Linked DNA regions of Homo sapiens: region 1 is linked to region 2. Evidence: promoter capture Hi-C in human tissues and cell types (Jung and others, 2019). All regions are on one chromosome and are shown on one strand. The core of a region is centred on a gene start or on the middle of the fragment in contact, and the rest is flanking DNA. Distances in the headings are between cores, read along the strand shown.

Region 1 (4,464 bases), core at 1,435-3,934, 80 kb after region 2:
TGTTAAGGTTCTGCTAGTGACAAATTTCTGTGGTGCATTTGAAGAGATGTTTACTAAAGAGGATCAGGGAGAGGGAATGGGTAATGGCACCAAGGATGCCAACTTTCTAGTGGAATTAGCATGTACATTATGTGACCTCAAAGTTTCTCTTTTTTTTTTTTTTTTTAAAGACAGAGTCTTACTCTGTCACCCAGGCTGGAGTGCAATGGCGTGATCTCAGCTCACTGCAACCTCCGTCTCCTGGGTTCAAGCGATTCTCCTGTCCCAGCCTCCCGAGTTGCTGGGATTACAGGCACCCGCCACCATGCCCAGCTAATTTTTGTATTTTTAGTAGAGACGGAGTTTCACCATGTTGACCAGGCTGGTCTCAAACTCCTGACCTCAGGTGATCTGCCTGTTTCAGCCTCCCAAAGTGCTGGGATTACAGGAGTGAGCTGCTGTGCCTGGCATCAAAGTCTCTCTTAATAGAACACATAGGGCCTCCTGGATCTTTGTTTTAAAACAAACAACCAAAACAAAACAACAAAAAGCATTGAGCAGTATTACACTCCAGAGTGACTTTTTCATATTGGAAGTACCTAATTTCTGAACGTTCTGCTTTACAGCTCTGATTTCGGTGAAATTTAGCAAATTTTACTGTCTCTGCTGTGAAAAAAGTTTTCCTAGGTTTGAATAGAATGGATTGATGTCATTGTGATAATGCTGAAGACTTCCTGTAACATTGTTGTTGATATGCTGTACTTAAGAGTTTTCTAAGATTCTTCTATTTACTTGTTACTTGCCTGCTTCAAGGAATAGTGAGTCTTTGGTGACTCCAGAGGGGTTTGTTTTTTCTGAGTCGTTCTCTTAAGTCTATACTTGTATTTTATACCTGAGGCTATCTGAAAATAGCAGAGTTCTGCTGCTGCTAGAGTTAGATTGGGCTCCCTTGAAAGAATACGGGTAGTGGGGGTTATGGCCTAGGAATATTTTTACACTCTTCTGCTTTCCAGAATTAGCCCATTTATCCACTTTATGGATTTGGGTGTTATATAGAGTGTTCAGTATTTTTAAAGATGCAGTTTCAAGTAGTAATTGATTCTTCATGTCAGTACTGCATTTTCAGATCATTAAAATATTAATGATTTAACTTTTCATGTACTTATGCTGGAATTATTTCAACTGTTGAACATTAGGAAGCCTTGGAGAACATGGTTTATGGAAAAAACTTACAATGATAAAAAACTTTAAAATATTACTAGTAAAGGCTATAATAACTTTATAACAAATTTTTAAGTGTTGATTTTTATATATGCAGCGCAGGTAAATTGAACATGAAATTGGAAATTGACAAGGATGTTGAAGTAGCAGAAAGTTACCAGTGAGTTAAGGTATAGATGATATTTTGATGTTTAAAAAATCAGATAGTGTACTGCATTTTATTGCATCTTACATACCTTTGTTTATAGAATATTCTGTATACCACCGTAAAAGTGATAACATTCCAGTTACCATTGTGAGCCACATTCCAATTTCAGAAATGTTAAAATATAGTAGGAAACATTTTGAAATAGTGAATATAGTGCATAAGGACAGTAAAAATGTTAATTGTGTAGTAAGATCAGAAAATAGTTTGGGAGAAATGATTTTAGCCTTTTATTAGTATATTTACCCCAAAAAGAAGTCATATAACTTTAGTCTACTTTCCTGAGAGAAACACACATAAGAAATTTGAAAAATATCCTTAAAGTGTATTCAAAGGCATGCCAGTGGTTTGTGTATGTTAATCTTATTTGGGGGCTTTCAGAGTGAACCTGTAGTTTTCTTGGTAATTACCTTTTCTAAAACATGATACTTATCTACAGTGTCATGTAAATGAAACTTAACTGAAGTATATAATAAAATATGTTTGTTCTCACATAATACTTTGGAATAACACCTTTGTCCCTCCCTTGTCAAAGTGATTTGATTCTTAGAAATGAGCTGCATGTAGAATTTTATGCAAAGATATTTTCTTTAGTTCATGAAATGACATCCAAACTCATTTCAGTTTCTTTCTAATAAAATTTTCACAGAACCTACTTTTAATACACATAGAAGACTGGCAGTAGAGAACATGGAAAGTTTATACTTACCATCTTTTTAGTTGCTTTCTAATGCTATAAATGCATTAATAGTAACATATATTCACTAACCACATGCATTTCATCCAAACTCGTTTGCCAAGAAAATTAGTTTAATAGTCCATTTAATTCTGTAGGATATTGTATTTTCTTATTAATAATTAGAGTATTGTGGTGCATTCTCTAAATCATTCAGTAGACATGTAACTTTTGATTAATGATAATTTTAAATGTGGCTCTGAAATTTCATATGTAACAGTAGGTTAGAGTACATAATGCAGGCACTATGTTAGATTTTCAGATTAATAAATATCAGGTGATGAAATGTGCAAAATAGTGCATCAGCAGGATTGTATATGCTGTACATTTTTGCCTGATTCTTTAAGATCTCAAAACCAACTTTAAGCTTCTGGTTATATAATTTCATGTGTAATAAGCAATTAAGTTTATATTTTGTAGTATTTATAGTAATAATTTCTCCAGTCCTCCTTAATGCCCCCCTCCACCATGGAAATTCTCAAACAGAAACAAAAGTAGAGAGAATAGAAAATCATGGCTGGGAGCGGTGGCTCACACCTGTAATCCCAGCACTTTGGGAGGCCAAGGTGGGCAGATCACCTGAGGTCAGAAGTTCAAGACCAGCCTGGCCAACATGGTGAAACCCCATTTCTACTGAAAATACAAAAATTAGCCAGATATGGTGGCGCGTGTCTGTAATACCAGCTACTGGAGAGGCTGAGACAGGACAATTCGCTTGAATCTGGGAGACAAAGGTTGCAGTGAGCCAAGATTGCACCACTGCACTCTAGTTTGGGTGACAGAGCGAGACTCTGTCTTAAAAAAAAAAATCAAAAAAAAAAAATTAAACTCTCATGTATCCATCATCTGGCTTCAAGAGTTGTCAACTCATGGCTAGTTTTGTGGCATGGATACCTCTTTCTCTTTGTCTCCCTCAGACCTGTTTTGTTTGTTGTTGAAGAAGAAATTGAGGTATTTCTCTTTTCCAGTTTCCTGCAGTCTGGATTTGCATCCCTTTAATGGTGCATGCCATGTCCCTTTGTCCCGTATATTTCCTGTAAATTAGGTCTAGAGGCTTGATCAGGTTGAGGATCTTTTTCCCCCTAGTAAAAACACAGATGGTATATGTATATGTTAATACTCTTCATTTAAAAACTGAGCAGCATGAAAACGTTTCTATTTTGATTTTTCTATAAAGCATTTTATACTAAAATAGAGCATGGGTAACAGAAGGATATTTATAATCAGGGCCACTAGATGTCTCCCACCTACTCTTTATGTTATCTGTGCCATCCACAAAAGATTTTTGTCACCTTCAGAACTCTGCCGGTTCCTTTTGACCACTGATGTACCAATCTCAAAATCTGTTGGTTGTTCTTTACTTTCAGAGACTGGCAAGTAGAAATGACTATACGAGTTTAACAGTATTTGATTTTTAAAGCTTTAAAGGCTGATTTTATATGGAGTATTACACTTCTGTACTTATAGTTTTTACTACACTTGTTGATGATTTTTGTCATTGAGAATTTTTAAAAACTCTACCAACTCTCATATTTAAGGAGCTTACTTACTGGGCAAACATTAGGCAGGACTTGTTTTTAAAAACTATGTTACTTGAGTTTCCTATAATTTTTAAAGTAATTTTCTACTATTTTAATGTTCCACATAAAATCCCAATTTATCCTGAGAACAGGGGAAAACTAATGCACACTTTTTTCATCATCATTTTCTGAAATCTATTTTTAAATTCTGGACGTGGTTGAGGACACAGTGAATAGTTTCATATCCTGCAGCTCTGGTATTGGTAGGTGGCTTTGTACCACTGGCTGAAACAATCACCCTAAAGTCAGCTTTACCAGCTCGTCCTGTTCTTGTACAGATGAAGCCTGACTGAAGAGAGATGGCTTTTCTGCTGCCTTGATGCCACTATTTTTTGTTTAGAAATGTTTTGAGGATGCCTAAAAAACAATCTACAAGAGAATAAAACTTTAGATTTTAAAATAAGTAATGCATAAAATATATTTTCATCCCATTTTTGACCTCACCTCATTCTTTAGCCATCCCTTATAGATGAGAAGTTTAACATAGCACCTTCCAAATTTAATATATCCCAGAACCTGTTTTTCTTGGACATTTATTAACGTCTCAAAAACATAAGGAAGAAAGTTTGGGAAGTGCTGATCAGGCACATTGCTCTTTTTATGTCTGTATCAAGAGATAACATTACTTTTGATGAGAATTCTTGTTCTAATGGGAGGGGTACATAAGACAGGTTTGACAATCATTATAATGAGAGATAGCAATTGGTTAGAGACATAAGAACCCTGAATGAAATAATGTGATA
Region 2 (4,135 bases), core at 732-3,231:
GTTCCTCTATGTTGTATCTTCTATGACTACTTCGTTCCTTTTACTGAGTAGTAGTCCACTGTATGGCATATACTGCATTTTATCCACGCAGCAGTTTCTGGACATTTGGACTGTTTCTACTTCTTGGCTATCATGAATAACACTGTTATTAATATTCATGTACAAGTTACTGTATGAATTTATCTTCAGTTCTCTCAGGCATACGCCTAGGAGTGGAATTGTTGGGTGATAGAATACTTCATGTGTAACTTTTTAAAAAACCTGGAAAACTGTTTTCCAAAGTGGCTGCACCATTTTACATTTCCATAGGCAACGTATGAGGGTTCTAATTTCTCCATCTCTTCACCAACACTGCTATTGTCTGTCTGTCTTTTGTACTACAGCCAGTGTAGTGGGTGTCAAGAACTTCCTTGTTGTGCTTCTAATTTGCATTTCCCTATTAACTAATGATGTTGAACACCTTTTTATGTAATTGTTGATCATTTAAATATCTTTGGTAAAACGTCTATTCAATTGTTTTGCCCATTTAAAATTGGACTATTAGTCTTATTACTGAGTTGTAAGAGTTCTTCATACATTCTGGCTACAAGTCCTTTAACAGATATATGATTTGCCAATCTTTTCTCCCAAGATAAGAGTATTTTTTAACGATGACAACTTTATTCCAAAGTGAAGTTTCCTTGTGGAACAGTAACAGGCTAGTCATGATTGACTTTGTTTCAAAATATTATATAAGTACTTTTAAAATAGTAACTTTTAACTTTTATTTTAGAATACTTGGAAGATGTAGACAAGCAAAAACAGGATACTAAAATTCCAGAGATAATCTTCAGGTTTTTTTTTTTTTTTTTCGGACAGCCTTTTGGTTATGTGAGAGGTAATATAAATTTAAAAGTGGGACCACTTAAATATTAAGTAATCTCTTATTGCAGCTCTTGGTTGGCAAGCAATAAGACACAAACCTCTGAATTATTTAAGTAGAAAATTAATTTATTAAAAGAATGGTTGGTTATGCCTCGCGTGAGTGACAGAGCCAGGGTTTTGTCTTCTATCTTCAGGGCAGGGTACAGCTGGGTATTGGAATTGTACCAAGCAGTGTTTCCCAAGGGGGCACAGAGGGAGGGCCCCTCTCCGGGCACTGTGCGGGAGCCACTTCCCCAAACAGTCCCCGTTCTGCAAGGGCCCCGGCGTTGCTGCCCCCGAGACCCGGGTGCCTGCCCCGGCGGTGCGGGTCGCGGGCCTCCGCTCTCGCCGTCCTCCCTCAGTCCCGGGCCTCCTGCATCGCGGTCGCCAGGCGCAGGCTCAGCGCGGCTGACAGCGCTCCAGCTCCCGCGCTCGCGGCCGCCTCAGGCAGCCGACCGGGTTGGGGCGGCCCCGCGCTCGGCCCGGGAGCCGATCCGCTGTGAGGGCTCCTCCATCTCCTCCCACCCCGTGACCTGCTCGACGCGCAACAGCCCGAGTTGTCTTTAACTTGCTGCGGCAGCCTCTTTGTCCCGACCCAGGGTCGGGGGCACCTCTCGGCCTGGCCCGGCCCTGCCCGTAGCCGTGTGAGCGGGGGCCGGGACTGGGCGGTCGGTCCGGGAGGGGCGCCGCGCCCGACCCCGGAGTCCCGAGCCCGAGGGGAGCGTCGCGGCCCCGCGGTGGGCTCGCCGCAGCGGAGGGGGCGCGCATCCGGGTGAGCGCCGGCGCCCCCGCCTCCCCCGCGCAGCCGCACGGGCCGCCGCCGCCGCTGCCGCCGAGCACGCAGCGCAGGGAGGACCGCGCCCGAGCGCCTGCGGGCGCCCTGCGGCGCCCGCCGCGCGACGAGCCCCAAGTGAGCGGGCAGGCGGCGCGCATGCGGGGCGGCCCGGAGTAGCGCCGCCCGAGCCCGCGAGCGGGGCGCCCGGAGTAGCCGCCGACCCGAGCCGGGCGCGGAGGCGGGGGCGGGCGCGGCGGAGCGGGGCCCGGCCGGACCCGCCCGCCCGCCGGGGGAGCCGCCGGCAGTGGCCGAGGAGCGCGCGGCGGACGGCGGCCCGAGAGTAGCGCGCTGGCCGCGGGACCGGCCGCGACCGCCGCGGCCGGCCCGGAGGACGCCTGCCGCCGCCGCCGCCGCGCGCCTAGCGAGGTGAGTGTATCGCCCGCGGCTGGGCAGTCCCGGAGCCGCAGCGCTGCGCGCGGGTCGGAGGTGGAGAAAGAGGCCCCGCCGCGGCCGCGTCCCCGGTCCCTTTGTGGCCGGCGCTGCCTGGGGCCGGGGCGCGGGCACGCTCGGCGCGGGTTCGGGTCTGGGACCCCGGTGCCGTTGGACACGCGGCGTCTCTGGTTGGCAGCTTTGGCGAGCAGCGAGTTTCCGTCCTAGTTTGACATTGAGTTAGAACCGTTTTTCTTTAGAAGACGGAAGTTTGTTTTATTGACAAAAATAAAGCTAAATATGGCTTCTGGGTTCGGCCGTGTGGTACTTGCAACCGCGGTGCCAGCCTGACCCTCGCGGCGCCACGGGGGAGGGGAAGACACGCCGGCAGCGGGGGAGGGGGCTTCCCGGCCCGCTGCCCCCGAGGAGGACCCGGACCTAAATTAGCAAATGTTTGTGGTTGGGAAGTAGCGGGCTTTAGGTAATGTAGTAGCTTTTCCGCTTTTCCTGGAAGAATGAATGAATGAGATGTCATTTACTCATCCATAATCAATACGTTGCCCATTTAAGCATTTACCAGGAATTGGGATGATTTGCATTGTCATTGCTTCTCTTATCTGGTCAGCCTTGCTAGATGAGGTTCCCTTACTCCCCAGATTTGTGACCTTGTCCTCATTCTCAAAGCCACTGAGCTAACCAACCCGTCTACCAAACTCACTTGGCATTTTTTTGGTCAAGTGGGCAATAGGCAAAGTAGTCTTTCTGAACTGTTTCTGGAGGGCAGAGAATGTCACTTTGATCATATCTTATGTTTAATACATTGCTTTATAATCGTGTCAAGAACGCTGAGAGTTAGGAGGTCTTGTCATTTCACAGATGAAATAGTGAAGGCCCTAAGAAGTTGCAACTTTTCAGGTCACAATCTGAGCAGCAGAGTTGGGATTCAAACCTAGACCTTGTTAGTCCAGTCCTCTTTACATCACATCTGTGTCCAGACCTGGACTGTCCAGCGTGGGAGCCACTAACCACATGTGACTATTAAAATTAAATTTTAAAAATTCAGCTCCTCGGTCACAGTAGCCACATTTCAAGTGTTCCATAGCTAAATGTGGTTCTTTGCTACAGTTGAACAGCCCTGGTCTAAATTATACATACATTTGTTGTGTCAGTAAATATTTACTGAATGCGATCTGTCTATGAGGCACAGTTTTAAGTTCTGGGTACATGGTGAATAAGGGAGACACAATGTCCTTGCCCTATTGGAATTGACATTTTACATGATCCTTTGAGGATGTTTCCATGGTACTCCGAGTCCTGCTATTCCAAGTGTGGATGGTGTACCAGCAGCATCCCTGTCACCTCAGACTCAAGTAATGCAGAATGTGAAGCCCCGCTGCACATCAACTGAATCAGTATCTGCTTTACCAGGATTTCAAGTTATTTGTGTGCACTTTGAAACCTGAGAAGCCTTTGTTCAGCGTGCTGGTGATAACTGCGTTTAATGACTGCTCTGCTGGTTTGTTTGGTGCCTCTTAAGCAGCAGACTGCAAAACTCTTGGGAGCACTCACCATTTATGCAAATACTTGTTAAATGCCTGGCTTTCTCAATAGAGTTTAAGCTTTATGAGAGCAGAGATTGTGGCTTCCTTTTCCAGCCATGTATCACTGAAGACTTTACAGTGCCTGGTAAGCAATAAGCACTTGGTATAAATGCTTGTTGGATAAACGAATGAGTGTGCTAGGATACTTAAGCGTGGTTGTTAGCTGGGTGTGGTGGCATGCGTCTGTAGTCCTAGCTATTCCAGAGTGACAGCGCGAGACCCTGTCTCAAAAAACTGAAAACCCAACAACAACAAAACTGATTGTTAATCCCAAGCAGTTACAGGCAAGGTAATTCTCATGACATCAGGTGAGAGAGCATGGGACCAGAGTCAAAATGAAGATAGATCTGTTTGTAACTTTCAGTGGGACGCTCCAGCTACTCTGACTGGAGTTTTGCTCCTGGCTCACTTGCATGCCCTATCCCTC

The links. Contacts are between HindIII fragments. The study calls those that stand out against the background at their distance.
Region 1: a fragment that was not itself captured here is called in contact with the fragment with the promoter of GALNT1 in region 2 in 3 of the 25 tissues and cell types used here (IMR-90 fibroblasts, hippocampus and lymphoblastoid cells).

Annotation. Positions count from the first base shown.
Region 1 is chr18:35,658,561-35,663,024 of GRCh38, forward strand. All of the region lies in intron 2 of GALNT1 (polypeptide N-acetylgalactosaminyltransferase 1), which reads left to right. Among named protein-coding and RNA genes, the nearest start is that of MIR3975, 69 kb to the left of the region's middle. The HindIII fragment of the contact is 3,602 bases long and covers 884-4,464 here.
Region 2 is chr18:35,579,759-35,583,893 of GRCh38, forward strand. GALNT1 (polypeptide N-acetylgalactosaminyltransferase 1) reads left to right here and starts at 1,982. Exons shown (of 12, transcript NM_020474.4): 1 at 1,982-2,104. RefSeq lists a silencer at 1,024-1,723. The HindIII fragment of the contact is 13,517 bases long and covers 1-4,135 here.